Regions from separate parts of the Homo sapiens genome. Here all the other regions are linked to region 1. The links are contacts of gene promoters, found by promoter capture Hi-C in blood cells and fetal thymus (Javierre and others, 2016). All regions are on one chromosome and are shown on one strand. Each heading gives the region's core, a stretch centred on a gene start or on the middle of the fragment in contact. The rest is flanking DNA. Distances are from core to core; before and after follow the strand shown. Region 1 holds the start of BCL7C (BAF chromatin remodeling complex subunit BCL7C). Region 2 holds the start of ATXN2L (ataxin 2 like). Region 3 holds the start of TUFM (Tu translation elongation factor, mitochondrial).

Evidence for each region. Contacts are between HindIII fragments. The CHiCAGO score rates a contact against its expected background, and 5 or more counts as called.
Region 2: the fragment with the promoter of ATXN2L here is called in contact with the fragment with the promoter of BCL7C in region 1 in 1 of 17 cell types (non-activated CD4 T cells); the score reaches 7.4 in non-activated CD4 T cells.
Region 3: the fragment with the promoter of TUFM here is called in contact with the fragment with the promoter of BCL7C in region 1 in 1 of 17 cell types (fetal thymus); the score reaches 6.0 in fetal thymus.

The regions. Positions count from the first base shown.
Region 1 is chr16:30,891,245-30,896,279 of GRCh38, reverse strand. BCL7C (BAF chromatin remodeling complex subunit BCL7C) reads left to right here and starts at 2,203. Exons shown (of 6, transcript NM_004765.4): 1 at 2,203-2,427; 2 at 2,990-3,068; 3 at 3,332-3,440; 4 at 3,533-3,694. The coding sequence starts at 2,336. It overlaps MIR762HG (MIR762 host gene), which reads right to left. Exons shown (of 3, transcript NR_110942.1): 3 at 1,060-1,732. It overlaps MIR762 (microRNA 762), which reads right to left and starts at 2,377; the gene lies at 2,295-2,377. It also overlaps a transcript of CTF1 not described here. RefSeq lists enhancers at 1-496, 497-1,002, 2,746-3,075, 2,614-3,246 and a silencer at 1,886-2,365. The HindIII fragment of the contact is 7,734 bases long and covers 1-2,669 here.
Region 2 is chr16:28,820,100-28,825,134 of GRCh38, reverse strand. It overlaps ATXN2L (ataxin 2 like), which reads right to left and starts at 2,136. Exons shown (of 22, transcript NM_007245.4): 1 at 1,577-2,136. The coding sequence starts at 1,875. It overlaps LOC124903672 (a long non-coding RNA gene), which reads left to right and starts at 1,093. Exons shown (of 2, transcript XR_007065042.1): 1 at 1,093-1,241. RefSeq lists a silencer at 930-2,079 and enhancers at 2,400-2,609, 2,121-2,857. The HindIII fragment of the contact is 7,883 bases long and covers 1-5,035 here.
Region 3 is chr16:28,845,086-28,850,120 of GRCh38, reverse strand. TUFM (Tu translation elongation factor, mitochondrial) reads left to right here and starts at 3,773. Exons shown (of 10, transcript NM_003321.5): 1 at 3,773-3,903; 2 at 4,015-4,209; 3 at 4,641-4,807. The coding sequence starts at 3,852. It also overlaps a transcript of SH2B1 not described here. RefSeq lists a silencer at 1-26 and an enhancer at 3,422-3,911. The HindIII fragment of the contact is 15,792 bases long and covers 1-4,001 here.

The DNA of each region.
Region 1 (5,035 bases), core at 954-3,453:
GCAGGACAGGAATGCGCAGGCCCTCTCTCTAGTCTGGGGCGCGGCTTGCGAGGGAGGCTACGATGGGGGCCGTCAGGCTTGGGGCATGTTTGTCCAGACATACATCTCCTGGCCTATCTTAGATGGCTTCCAATCTCATTGTCACACCCACCAGGAGGGAGACAGATACACTGCTCTCCTCTTCTTAGCAGGCCTAGTAACAATCACACCCCGCCCCCCACCCCCAGGAGAACAAGCTACAGAGACCTGGACAGGAAGTCACACCCATACGTCAACCCCATTAACCTGGTGTAGACGGAAAGGAAGGCACATAGGGATGATCCATACTTGGTTTCTGGCCCCCGCGAGGGGCTCGCGGTCTGTCGAGGAAGCCCATAGACAACAGAAGCTAATGGGGTTTGTGAATGAAGACGAGGAGGCCCGTGTGTGTGTGCGCTTGCGTGTGTCTGCGTGTGTGCGTGCATGCGGACGTGTGTGCGTGTGAGCATGCGTGTGTGCGAGTGGATTTGTGTGCGTGTGAGTGTGCAGGTGTGCGCGTGTGTGCATGTGCGCGTGCATGTGTGTGCGTGTGTTCGTGTGAGTGGGTGTGTGTATTGCCGTGAGCAATTGCTGGAATAAAAGAAGAAAGAGTTTAACTGGAGAGGGCACAGCAGATAGAATTGAGCCAGACAATTGGTAGGGCCCACAATCACATGTGTATTAACTGTAAATATTTATTGGGCATTTACCATGTGCTGGGCACTGTTCTAAGAGCCATATGCACATTAACTAACTCCTGTGTTATAGATGCGGAATAGAGAGAAGTGACTTGTCCAGGGTAACACAGTTAGGTGTGGCACAACTGGGATTTTACCTAAGCAGCTTGGCTCAAAAAAATGCTGTCTTAACCATGCTCCTAACCCCTTATACCCTTAACCTCTGGACATGGTCACGCCCAAATTCACAGACACAACAGCCACACCTTGAAACACACACACACACACAACAGCAGCACAAATTTTGACATGGTCTTATCTGCTGACAAGCCAGCCTCAAATAAAGTCAACAAAGACACACTCATTTTATTTAAGTAATGTACATTTTATTTAAGTCATGTGATGGATTTTCACAGAATACATATGCCCAGGGAACCAGCACCAGATTACACAACAGAACTGGATCAGCTCCCAGAAGCTCTCCCCTCGTCCCCTCCCAACCCTAAGGGCGATCACTATCTTGACTTTGGTGCACTATAAATTAGTTTTGTCTGGTTCTGAACGTAATACACCTGGAACCATCTAGTATGTACTGTTGCATTTGGCTTCTGTCACTCAAGATTTCATCATGCGACTTGTCTATGTTGCTGTGTGTAGCCGGGCATGTCAATCCCGTTGCTGTGTCTATGTGCATGGTAGTGAGTAGGGCATCATTCATTTTCCATTCTGTTGATGGGTTATTTCCAGTTTGGGGCTGTTATGAAAGGGCTCTGAACATTCCCATGCACCCTCTTGATGCTCACACCTACACATTTCTGCTGGGTGTTGACAGCCTAGGAGTGGAACTGCTGGATCACAGAGGTGGCATATGTTCGGCTTCATTAGAAAACTGCCAGTTTTCCAAAATGTCTCTACCAATTTACACTCCCCCAGAAATACAAGAGAGGTCCAGTCGCTCTACTTTCTCGCCTCCACACGGTGCGGTCTTTTTCACTTTAGCCATTCTGGTGGTGGAGACCCACTCGTATTCGCAGCGCCTGGAGCGTAATTGGCACTCAGTTAACAAGACTGTTGAATGAATGGATGACTGAGTAAGTTGGGCGGTGTAGACCAACAGCCTGGCGAGGGCGGACACACGCACGCACTCCACACACAGCGTTTCGCGGACACCCACCGCGGCTCACGCAGCGCAGGACACAGACCCTGTCGCGCACCCCGCGCCCACGTGGTCTGAACACACGGCCTCGGCCCTGCCTCGCGCGTCCGGTCGCAACTCCCGCTCTCCGTCCCCAACTCGCGCGTCCGTCCCCAACTCCCGCTCTCGGCGGCGGGCAGGGGGCGCTGAGCGTCCAGGCGCTCCAAGGGGGCGGGCCCGGGTCGGGGCGGGGCCGGCCGGGCTTCCAGGCCTGGGCTCTGGCCGCCCGCGCCACCGGGCCGCTCCGGGGACAGGCCGGGGCGGGGCGCGGCGGCAGGAAACGGGGCGGGGACTTGCGGAGGCGTTGGGGACGAGAGAGGGCGCGGCCAACTCCAGGGGGGACGGCAGGCCGAGAGCGCGGCGCCCGGGCCTGGCGCGGAGCCTGAGCCCGCCGGACGGGAGGCGGCCCCGCCGCGGGCTCGGCCCCGGCCCCAGCCCCGCCAGCATGGCCGGCCGGACTGTACGGGCCGAGACCCGGAGCCGGGCCAAGGATGACATCAAGAAGGTGATGGCGACCATCGAGAAGGTCCGGAGATGGTGAGCGCTGCTCGGGGGCCAGGGACGGGACACAGCGGGACCACCAGCACCAAAGGCGTCTACGCTGCCCTCGCCAGCTCTGGGCCCCGGGTGTTCGGTGTATCTCCACCCACTAGCTTTGCCCTGGATCCACAGGGCTCTGTCCCCGTTCGCCTGGCTACTCCTGGGGGTCTACAAAGCGTGATCCCCAGCCGTGTCCTCCCAGAGCGGGAGCCCCCTCTTGTGCCCCGCCCCCTAAAGCTTTGACACCCCTCCTGCAGGTGCGCCCCAGGATCTGCAGGGCTCTGATCCCGGGCCAGGCCCATAGCCACGCCCCCCATGTGTGCCCCAGGGGTCCGCAGAGCCAGGGCCCCAAATCATATCCTCTCTCTAGAGGCACCCACCGCCTATGCCCTGGGGTTTGCAGGACTCTCTTCCTCCATGTAACTATGCCCCATTAGCAAAACTGTTGCTATCCTCCTGTGCCTCCTCAACCTCTGCAGGTACCCCCAGATGTGTCCAGCTCCTAGGGGGGTGGGTCTCCCCTCAGGCCTCTCTGACCCAGCCCCCCACCCTCCCACAGGGAGAAGCGATGGGTGACTGTGGGCGACACTTCCCTTCGTATCTTCAAGTGGGTGCCAGTGGTGGATCCCCAGGAGGAGGTGAGCAACCCCCATTCCCACAAGGCCCTGCATCTGTGCAACCTCAGGCAAGTTCCTCCCCACGCTGACCTCTACCTCCAGCTCCCCGAGACCTCAGATGCAGCAGGACAGACGGGAACCATCATTAGCAGCTCCTCCCCTTTTGCCCTCTTTTCTGCTCCACACCCCCTGAGTTTGAGCCCTTTTGCTTCTCAGTGCCTCAGTTTCCTTAGGTGTATGGTGGGGCTTTCCAAGAGCTCTGACCCTAATCCTCTAACCCCCAGGAGCGAAGGCGGGCAGGTGGCGGGGCAGAGAGATCCCGTGGCCGGGAACGTCGGGGCAGGGGCGCCAGTCCCCGAGGGGGTGGCCCTCTCATCCTGCTGGATCTTAATGGTAGGTAGGGATCCTGAAACGCGGGGGGCTGTGGGGACTGAAGGAGTGTACTAGGGATCTCAGGCCAACCATCTCGGCTCTTGCTCCCGCAGATGAGAACAGCAACCAGAGTTTCCATTCGGAAGGTTCCCTGCAAAAGGGCACAGAGCCCAGTCCTGGGGGCACCCCCCAGCCCAGCCGCCCTGTGTCACCTGCCGGACCCCCAGAAGGGGTCCCTGAGGAGGCTCAGCCCCCACGGCTGGGCCAAGAGAGAGGTAGGACCAGGTACCTCCCAGGAGCTCTCTCCTCTAAGTCCTGTCTTCTCCAGAGTCTAACCTACCAGCTCATCCCTATACCTGCTCCCCGTCTTGTGCACCCTCCTCAAGGCGCCTTCCGACTCCTGCAGAATCTCCCTGTAGCTACAGTCTCATTCCTCTGGTCTCTTAGAATCTATACAGACATATCACTGTCTGAGATTTTCATGTAAATTAATTTTTTACTAGTTTATCTTTCTCCTCACTCTCATGTCAGTTTCCTGAATGTTGGGCCCATATTGATCCTTTTTTTTTTTTTTTTTTTTTTTTTTTTTTGAGAAAGGGTCTCGCTCTGTCACCCAGGCTGGAGTAGTATAGTGGTGTGATCATAGCTCACTGCAGCCTTGAACTTCCTGGGCTCAAGCGATCCTCCCGCCTCAGCCTCCCAAGTAGCTGGGACCACAGGCATATGCCACCACACCTGGCTAATTTTTGTATTTTTTGTAGAGATAAGGTTTCACCATGTTGCCCAGGCTGGTCTCAAACTCACTTGCTCAAGCAGTCCTCCACCTTCAGCCTCCCAAAGTGCTGGGATTACGGGTGTGAGCCATCACACCCACACCCGGCCCTCCCCCCCCTTTTTTTTAGAGACAAGGTCTCTGTCACCCACGCTGGAGTACTCTGGTGCAATCATAGCTCACTGCAGCCTCAAACTCCTGGGCTCAAGGGATCCTCTGGCCCCAGCCTCCCAAATAGCTGGGACTCAGGTGTGTGCCACCATGCCCAGCCAATTCTTAAATTTTTTGTAGAGGTAGGGTCTCGCTATGTTGCCAAGGTTGGTTTTGAACTCGTGGCCTGAAATGATCCTCCTGTCTCAGCCTCCCAAGGTGCTGGGATTATAGGCGTGAGTCACTGTGCCTGGCCCTATGTGATCTTGTTCACTACTGTATCCTCAGAATAATATGGGACACATAGTAGGTGCTCAGTAAATATCTGTTGAGTGAATAAATAATAGTGATAGTCATAGGGGTGATTAACAATAATAGGAATAACAACAGCTAGTATTTATTGAGCTCTTACTGTGTGCTAGGTGCCCTGGTAAACACTTTACGTGGTTGGGTTTTTTTCTTTTCTCTTTTTCTTTTCTTTGAGAGAGTTTCGCTCTTGCCAAGGCTGGAGTGCGACGGCACAATCTTGGCTCACTGCAACCTTCACCTCCTGGGTTCAGGCAATTCTCCTGCCTCAGCCTCCTGGGTAGCTGGGAATATAGGCATGAACCACCATGCTCGGCTGGTTTTGTATTTTTAGTAGAGTTGGGGTTTCGCCATGTTGGCCAGGCTGGTCTCAAACGCCTGACCTCAG
Region 2 (5,035 bases), core at 887-3,386, 2.1 Mb after region 1:
AGTGATCTTCCTGCCTCAGCCTCCCGAGTGGCTGAGACTATAGGTACGAACCACCACTCCTGGCTTTTTTTTTTTTTAATTTTTAGTAGAGATGGGATTTCCCATCTGTGTTGCCCAGGCTGGTATCGATCTCCTTGGGCTCAAGGGATCCTCCCACCTTTGCCTCCTAAAGTGCTGGCATTACAGGCGTGAGCCACTGCGCCCGGCCAATAAATAAGATTTTCAAACTGTCACCTTGTAGAGGAAGAAAAAAATAGACATTAATAAGCCAGCAAACACATTTCCTCCAAATGCCAGCAAAAAGATCTCAATCAACAATGGTTGTCAATTGCTCTAAGAACCAACGAGAAAGGGGCTAGGGCTGCAGGCTACCAACAGATCAATGCTACAGTATTAACCAAAAAGCCACGCCAGCTGTGAGGGCAAAAGCTCCAGGAGTGCAGCTTTGGAACTACCTAGCTCAGGTACATTACCTCCCAAACAGAAAAGACAATCATTTTCAGCAGCCTGACGCCTCAAAACTGTGGGAGGAGGGGTATCCCCTCCACACCCCATCCCCTCGACCTCATGACTCATTCAGCCCGTTACCCACTCTGCGGGGATCACCAATCGCCAGGTAACCCTGCTCGTCGCTGGCTGATGTAACCGGCGGTTGAGGGCGAAGAGGGGGCCGCTGGCGGGGCTGGGGGACAGCGCAGCCGCAAAAGCCATCCACCGGGAGGCCTCGCCCGGTCTGCGCCTGCGCACTAAAACCCACGGGACTTTCCGAACCCCCACCTCCAGCGATCAGAGCCCACTGCGCCTGCGTGTGCTGCCACTCTTAATTCCATTAACACACACACACTCGCACAGGAAAAACTGAGCAGGGCCTCCACTACTCATGCACTGCCACCAGACGAGCCCCTCCACGAACTAGTCCCTGCCCTAGGTGTTCCCGGGGCGCGCGAATGCCCGGGTCATGAGACCGAGCATCCACGCGCACGTACGGGAAGGGGGCGCGCGCGCCAGAGGCTCCCGGCCCGCAGTCCTCCCAGTCATCCCTCCTTCCGTCCCCCCGCCCACCTCGCTCCCCTCCTACTGGCCAGACCGGGAAGGGGGAGGCAGCAACCCGCTCCCAAGTCCCTCCCTCCCCATTGGCCAAACTGTGGGCCGCGCGCCCCCCTCCATTGGCTACGGCCGGGGACCCCTTCCCGCAGCAGACTCCCCATTGGCTGAAGCCGGGGACCGCGAGACCCTTCGTGGTAATGGAACCGGGGACCCCGATCAGCTCCTTGCCCCCCCCCAACTCCCCGTTCCGACGGCGCCGGCGGGATGCGCCCCGCCTCCCCTGAAGGCCGGGGCTGCGAGCCCTGACTAGGCCCCGAGAGCCGAGCGCGGCCCCTCAGTGCTCCGGTGGCCGCCCGGGGACCCTTTCCGTCCGACCTGTTCGGACCTGAGGGGGCCCTCCCCCAGCTTCACGGGGACTCCCCACCCAGCCGGTGCCCCTGACGGTGCCGGGTCGGGGTCCGCCCCACCGGAACCGAGCCACAGCCTCTGGGTGGCCGCGGCTCCCTCGCCCGGAGCCCACCCTTCTCACCTGGCGCTGCCGATGGCGGCTGCCCCCGGCCTCTCCTGGTGTTGCTGCGGCGGCGGCGGCTGCGGCGCCAAGATGCCTTCGGCTCCCCGGCGGAGCCCGCTCCCGGCAGCGGCCACAGGCCCCAGGCAGGGGGAGGCGGCCGCTGGAGGCCCGGGAGGAGCCGCAGAGGTGGCCAGCGGCCCCGGGAGGCCGCCGTTGGGAGGGCTGGTGCCCCCGGGGGGCCGACGGGCCACGGCCTGTTGCGTGGGGGGCGGCTGCTGGGGCTGGGAGGGCTGTTGTAGCGGCTGAGGCTTCAACATGATGGCAGCGTCCGGAAGGGGAATTAGAGAGAAGGGAGGGAGAGAGGGGGCCGGGGCTGGGGCCCCGCTGGAGAGCGCGGGAAGCGAGGGGGATCGGGCAGCCGGGGCCCGCCGTGGGCGGGCGGGGGGAGCCCCGCGGTGTCGGGGGTGGAGAGAGAAGACCGCGGCGCGAGGAAGCGCCGCGAGGCGGAAGGGGAGGGGGTCTCGCGGCTGGAGGAAAGCGAGAGGGCGCGAGCCGGGCTGGCGCGCGTGCGCGTCGCCGGGGAGCGGAGAGGGAGGAGCGCGCGGGTGGGAGCTCCCGGGGGGGGGGGGGGGGGGGGGGGGCCAGGAGCGAGCAGTGGCGCGAGGTGCCGCGCACACCGGCGCGGTTAGCTCCCGGCGGGAAAGTGGGAGAGAATCAAGTCGGTGAACCTCGCACCCCTAGCCCTGGGAGTGGGTAAGGAGCGGCGCGGGCGCTCACGCGCGCCAAGGATTTAGGGTCTTAAGGTCTCAAACCGCCTTAGAAGCCGGCGGCCGCTGTCGCTTCACAATGAGCGTGTGAGGCGCAGGGGGAGGAGCCGAAGGCGCCAGAGGAAGGGCCGGCCTCTCCGCCCACGCCGTCGCTGCGTCGCGATGCCTCCGCGGGAGTGTGAGGCGGCACGTCGTGCGTGAGGCTCTTCCGCCACTTGGCGGCCCGTGGGCAGAGCCTTAAGTGCCAAGAAAGTCTCCGGGACTGGACCACCCGAGCCACTGCGCTTTTAGGCAGGTGGTAGGTTTCGCAAGGAGCTACCCTCCACCTTGTTTGCTTTAAGTAAAAGACTGATGAGCATTAGTGATTCGTTTGAGCGTGTTGATCTTTGCAGATAAATTTACGCCTCGTCCTAAATTATTTCAGATTTTTGTGATTTTGACCTAAATTGTTCCTCCATGCCCGAGAATGAATCTTTAAACTGTAATAACAAAGACTGAAGGCCAAAGTTCCGAGTTCAAAATCCTCCACCCGACCCTGCAATGAAGGCAGCTTCATTCATTCAAAATGAGTTGGGCATTGGAGTATTCAGTTAGTTGTTTTGGACACAAGGATAATTAAACTGCTTCCTGCTCTGGAGGAGTTCATGCTAGTGGTGAATTCAGAGAATTTGACGAGATCTAGTAGGTGAAGCACAGAGGACTACAAGAGCAAATGGGAGTGACACCTAATCTTAATCCAGTTTTGGGAGACCCAGATAAGGGACAGGAGGGCCGGGCGCAGTGGCTCATACCTGTAATCCTAACATTTTGGGAGTCCGAGGCAGAAGGATCGTTTAAGGCCAGGAGTTTGAGACCAGCCTAGGCAACAAAGTGAGACTTTGTCTCTACAAAAAAAAAAAAATTTAAATTATAAAAAAAAACTGATAAGAGGGCAGGGGGAGATGGGTTTCTAGGCAGGGAAATAGGATATGACAAACTAAGAAAAACTCAGCTTGTCCTAAGCATAAAATTAAAGGGGGGAAGAGGTAGCTAATCTGGGATCAGGTTTTAAAGGCTCCCAAGTCTTGTAAGAGACACGGACATTATCCTCAAAGCAGTGGGGAGCTTATTTAAGAAAGTGAAAAGAGGCTGGGCATGGTCTGTAATCCCAGTACTTTGGGAGGTTTGAGGTCAGGAGTTTGAGATCAGCCTGGCCAACATGGTGAAACCCTGTCTCTACTAAAAATGCAAAAATTAGCTAGGCGTGGTGGTGCATGCCTGTAATCCCAGCTACTCAGGAGGCTGAGGCAGGAGAATCACTTGAACCAAGGAGGCGGAGGTTGCCGTGAGCCCAGATCGCACCACTGCACTCCAGCCTGGGTGACAGAGCAAGACTCCTTCCCCCCAAAACAAACAAAAAAACAAGTGAAAAGAGGTCAGATTTGCATTTTTAAAGGTTTACTCTTTGCAACGTGGAGAATGGAGTGGAGCTGTTAAGTCCATGTGGTCTTAATCCCAGCGAAACTCTCAATGTCTCAATCTCTTCGCTCTAAATGTTAGCATTGGAACTCTTCCCAGCCCCTGCACCAAACACATGCACACCTAGCTACAACACTGCCTTACTTTTTGGGTAATAGTCCTTCGCCCTGCCTCGCTCCTGCCTTCAGATGTGCTAGTTTCCCCTCCTGTGTGCTCGCCGAGCAATTTATCCCACTGTATTCTAACAGCTCCTTTAATTCTGTCTTCCTGCTAATGTCAGCTCCCTAAGGGTTAGGATCTTGACTTATTTCTTGCTCTGCAGTACTCTAGCACACTGCAGGCACTCAATGAAATATCTGTAAGGTGAGTGGATCCAAATGATGTTTTTTTGTTTGTTTTTGAGATGGAGTTTTGTTCTTATTGCCCAGGCTGGAGTGCAATGGCGCGATCTCGGCTCACCACAACCTCCGCCTCCCGGGTTCAAGCGTTTCTCCTGCCTCAGCCTCTTGAGTACCTGGGATTACAGTCATGCACCACCACACCCGGCTAATTTTGTATTTTTAGTGGAGACGGGGTTTCTCCATGTTGGTCAGGCTGATCTTGAACTCCCGACCTCAGGTGATCCACCCGCCTCGACCTCCGAAAGTGCTGGGATTACAGGCATGAGCCACCACGCCCAGCCCAAATGGTGTTTTAAAGGTCATCATGTCTCCTGGGTTCCCTAACAAACACAGTCCAGCTTTTTCCTGGCATTACCTGGACCACCTGATGCCATGCCACCTCTCTACCCTCATTGACAGATTGTGAGCACTGAGCACTCTAACCCCCTTCCATCTACCCCATCCTGCTCCACACTCAAATTCTGAGTTTTAGCCCCATGAAACTTCTTTCTCCATAGCTTGCCTTGCCCTTGCTAGTGGCAGCTAATTTGCATGGGGTCTACAGCAACCTCAATTCTTGCCTCCTCAGAAGAAAGAATTCCACCAAGGGGCATAAGGCAGAGGGAGAGACAGAGGCAAGTTTTAGAGCAGGAGTGAACGTTTATTAAAAAGTTTTAGAGCAGGAATGAAAGGAAGTAAAGTACACTTGGAAGAGGGCCAGGCGTGAATGACTTGACAGATTCAAGTCCCTGGTTTGACCTTTGACTTGGGGTTTCATATGCTGGCATGCTTCCAGGGATTTACGGTTTGCATCTCTTCTCCCCTGATTCCTACCTTGGCATGGGCTGTCCACATGCACGGTGGCCTGCCAG
Region 3 (5,035 bases), core at 2,524-5,023, 2.0 Mb after region 1:
ATCTGTTATCTGTAAGTCAAGACTTCTGACTGAGCCATTCACTAATACAGAGGATGCTACGGTCAACAGCTCTAGAAAAAATTTTCTCTGGGCTCTTTTCCGAACACCGTGTTTCTCAAACTCTAGCCATTCATTCACTACCTTCCAAAAAATTTGCCATATATTCATACCACACATAATAGTTTTTATTTTATTTTTGAGACAGAGTCTCGCTCTGTCACCCAGGCTGGAGTACAATGGCGTGATATCGGCTCACTGCAACCTCCGCCTCCTGGGTTCAAGCGATTCTCCTGCTTCAGCCTCCTGAGTAGCTGAGACTACAGGCGTGCACCATGCCCAGGTAATTTTGTATTTTTAGTAAAGACGGGATTTCACCATGTTGGCCAGGCTGGTCTCGAACTCCTGGCCTCAAGTGATCCGCCTGCCTCGACCTCCCAAAGTGCTGGGATTATAGGTGTGAGCCATTGTGCCCAGTGCATCCATAATATTATCTACCAAACAATATTCTTTTAAGTTGATCTGTTTTTTTAAAAACTTGATTATTATGCCAGTTTTTTTTCAAGCTAATACACATTAAAATAAATATAGCACCACAAAAATATAAACCATTAATTCAAATACCACCCCCAAAAACTCATAACTTGCTAGTGGCCAATAGTGTCTTAGGATAAATTCCTAGGAGTACAGTGACTTAGGTACAGAGTAGAAACAGAAAACCCTTTTAGGCTGGGCACAGTGGCTCATGCCTGTAATCCCAGCATTTTGAGAGGCCAAGGTGGGCAGACGGCTTGGGCCCCGGTATTGGGAGACCAGCCTGGCCAACATGGCGAAACCCCATCTCTACAAAAAATACAAAAATTAGCCAGGTGTGGTGGTGTATGCTTGTAATCCCAGCTATTTGGGAGGCTGAGGTAGATTGAGCTTGGGAGGCTGAAGCTGCAGTGAGCTGTGACTGCCCTACTATGCTCCAGCCTAGGAGACCCAGCAAGGCTCTGTCAAAAAAACAAAAACAAAATCTGTTTATACTACACATGATACCAGCCTTTCCTAAGCAGAACTGATTAACTGGAGGGCCAGGAAGAGAGAAGTCTTAGCAAGTTCCTCACTTTATCTGAGCAGTAAAATGAGAGTTAAATTATAGTACAGTCTGGCTGGGCATGGTGGCTCACACCTATAATCCCAGCATTTTGGGAGGCCAAGGTGGGTGGATCACTTGAGGTCAGGAGTTCAAGACCAGCCTGGCCAATATGGTGAAACCCCGTCTCTATTAAAAATACAAAAATTAGCTGGGCGTGGTGGCAGGCGCCTGTAATCCCAGCTACTCGGGAGGCTGAGGCAGGAGAATCGCTTGAACCTGGGAGATGGAGGTTGCAGTGAGCCGAGATCGTGTCACTGCACTCCAGCTGGGCAACAGAGTGTGACTCTGTCTCAAAAAAAAAAAAAAAAAAAAAAGGACAGTGCGGTGTGCACACTTTTTGGGGTTTAGTGGTGGTGGATTCCTTAATCACCCTGACCGTCAGTTTTCACACCTGCAAAATGGAGGAAATAATAGTTCCTACTACCCAGGGTAGCACTGGGAGCGCTGATTGTGAAACAATAGGAATGCCTGAACATCATAAAGCTCTAGTTCAGAGTTTCCTAAACTCCTCTGAGTTTTCATTTGAAAAAAAATTTTTTTTTTTGGAGACGGAGTCTCGCTGTGTCGCCCAGGGTGGAGTGCAGTGGCACCATCTCAGCTCACTGCAAGCTCCGCCTCCCGGGTGCAAACAATTATCCTGCCTCAGCCTCCTGAGTAGCTGGTACTACAGGTGCACACTGCCACGCCCAGCTAATTTTTTGTATTTTAGTAGAGACAGAGTTTCACCGTGTTGCCCAGGCTGTTCTCGAACTCCTGAACTCAAGCAATCCACCCGCCCGGCCTCCCAAAGTGCTAGGATTACAGGTGTGAGCCACCACGCCTGGCCAAAATATTTTTATAGAGATGGGGTCTTTCTTGGCTGAGCGTGGTAGCTCACGCCTGTAGTCCCAGCACTTTGGGAGGCCACAATGGGCGGATCACTTGAGGTCTGGAGTTCGAGAGCCGTCTGGCCAACGAGGTGAAACCCCATCTGTACTAAAAATACTAAAATTAGCCAGGCGTGGTGGCACATGCCTGTAGTCCCAGCTACTCAGGAGGCTGAGGTGGGAGAATTGCTTCAACCCAGGAGGTGGAGGTTGCAGTGAGCCGAGATCGCCCCATTGCACTCCAGCCTGGGCGACAGAGTGAGACTCTGTCTCCAAAAAAAAAAAAAAAAAAAAAAAAAAGATGGGGTCTTTCTCTGTCACTCACGGTGGGGTGCAGTGTCATGATCATACCTCACCACAGCCTTGAACTCCTGAGCTCAGGCGATCCTCCTGCCTCGGCCTCCTGAGTAGGAGGGGCTATAGCTGCATGCTACTGTGCCTGGCTAATTTTAAATTTTTTTTTGTAGAGATAGGGTCTCCTAATCTGCCCAGGCTGGTCTTGAACTCCTGGCTTCAAACCGTCCTCCCACCTCAGCCTCCCAAACTGCTGGGACTATAGGCTGGCACTATAGCCACCGTGCCCAGCCTCTTCTCAGTTTTAGAAGAGTGTTTGTTATATAGCTTCCCAGTCTGTGCATAGACCCCACGGAATCATAACCTCCAGGGGAGGAATTAGGGAATCTATTTGAAACAAACACTGTCCACTGAGTCTCAGGATCTGATGAGTTCCGAAACATTAGCCAGGGTTAAGCAGCCATAATTAACACTTTGGAGTGCCCTGTGGAAGCTGCCATGAGATGATGGATGTGAAAGTTAAGGGACATTGACTACCCTTGCACCCATTCATTCAACATTCACTGCATGCTCCACCCTGTTAGGTGCTGGGGACACCGACAGATTAAAGGAGACTCAGGCTCCCCTTAAAGGCTCCCCTAGCTGGCTCCTCATCCTTGGCTCCTCATCTGCAAAATTAGATGGGTGGGGCGATGCCCAACGGAACTGCTCCTTAGGCTGCTGAGGGACTACAGGGGTGGGCAGCGAAGCTGTCTGTCTTGTGGGCTCTGGCCCTGTGAGGTCTAGCAGTACAGGGTCCCCGCAAGCTGCCTGACCTCACAGGGCCCAACACTGACTCCTACCCAGTTCATCTCCTCTCAGGGCTAGATGTCAGGCTCTCCCTATGAAGTGGATACTACTATTCCCATTTTACAGATTAGAAAACAAAGTCTCAGCGAAGAGGGAGGTCACACTTCACCCCATCCCCGAAAGGCGTCCAGGACCTGGTCCCCTACCTCCAGCTGCGGCAGAGGCGGCCAGATATCTCGCAAGACCCGCGTAGCGAGTCGGACTCCGGGGGACTCGGGGTCTCTCTCTGCCGGGCCCAGGAGGAGGTTCCTGAGCAGTCGGAGCCGCAGCTGCCTCCCGGAGCCCGAGCCCCTCCCTCCGGGTCCGGCCTAGCCCGCCTGACTCCCACTCTGATCACCTCCACAGCCCGCCGACCTGAGAACTACTACGCCCATGAGCCTTCGCGGCGCCGGTGATTTAGGGGACGCTCCTCAGTGCCCCCTGCGACCGCCAGAGAGAACTACGTTGCCCCTCAGCCCGAGAGGCGCGAGTGGTGGAAAACCTCTCCATCATACTCCGCCCTCGAGACACCAGCCCCCTCCATGACGTCTTCAGCCGCGCGCCCGACGTCGGCTGAGACGGCCATAGACACTGGCGGCTAGAGGGGCCCGGACTTGCCCTCCCAGCTCTAACTTCCGCCGGAAGTGCCTTCCAGCCGCAGGCGCCCTTCTTCTTCTGTGCGCTCGGGCTCCTGGTCCCGGCTCCCCGGTTACCGGGGCGCGAGTATGACCACAATGGCGGCCGCCACCCTGCTGCGCGCGACGCCCCACTTCAGCGGTGAGTGGTCAGGGAGGGCGATGGCGGCCCAGGAACACTTTGGGGGAGTGGTAGGTGGCTGGGTTCGGTCTGACCCCTTCCCTGCCTGACTCCAAGCTTCGGTCCCGGCAGGTCTCGCCGCCGGCCGGACCTTCCTGCTGCAGGGTCTGTTGCGGCTGCTGAAAGCCCCGGCATTGCCTCTCTTGTGCCGCGGCCTGGCCGTGGAGGCCAAGAAGACTTACGTGCGCGACAAGCCACATGTGAATGTGGGTACCATCGGCCATGTGGACCACGGGAAGACCACGCTGACTGCAGCCATCACGAAGAGTGAGTGGGGTTGGGGCGTCCAGCAGCGCCCTATCTACTGATGGGACCTGGAGCCAGGGAGGCAAGGCCAGCAGAGTGTCTGCTGGAGGAGTTTACTGTGGCCCCAAGAGCCCGAATTTGTGCGACAGGTGGATTGGGAGATGCAAGAGACAAATTTCTCCTGAACAGGAAGAACTTTGTGATCCACCAATGGCTTGGGGATCACAAAGTCGTGGGGAATGCTCTGCAAGCAGAGGCTGTACCCTAAAGAAGTCACAGGGCAGACCCTTAAGGCCCTCTAACATTTCTTTCTGACCCACAGTTCTCTCTGCTGGAAGAGTTAGAGATTGGAGGAGGTTATGTATTTAGGTGGGAGGGTTCAGGGGCGTGGTCTAAGCTCTGCCTCTAGCACTGGAACTTTAGCTGAGAGGTGTGTTCTTTTCCTCCTTTAGTTCTAGCTGAGGGAGGTGGGGCTAAGTTCAAGAAGTACGAGGAGATTGACAATGCCCCGGAGGAGCGAGCTCGGGGTATCACCATCAATGCGGCTCATGTGGAGTATAGCACTGCCGCCCGCCACTACGCCCACACAGACTGCCCGGGTCATGCAGATTATGTTAAGGTGAGGGTTGCTGGGACACTGGAGACAGGGCCAGAAGCTGCCTCTTGTCAGGATAAATGTTAGGCTTGTGGGGAGGAGATTAAGATATTCAGTGTTTGGGTATGAGATGGCAGGTTTGTGGTCTTGGCCACGCAGAATGGGTGGTGAGGAGATGGTAGAGAAAGGTGGGCCTGAGTTTCTAACTGCTACACTTGGCTATATGGATGTGAACTGAAGAGCTCGTTGAAC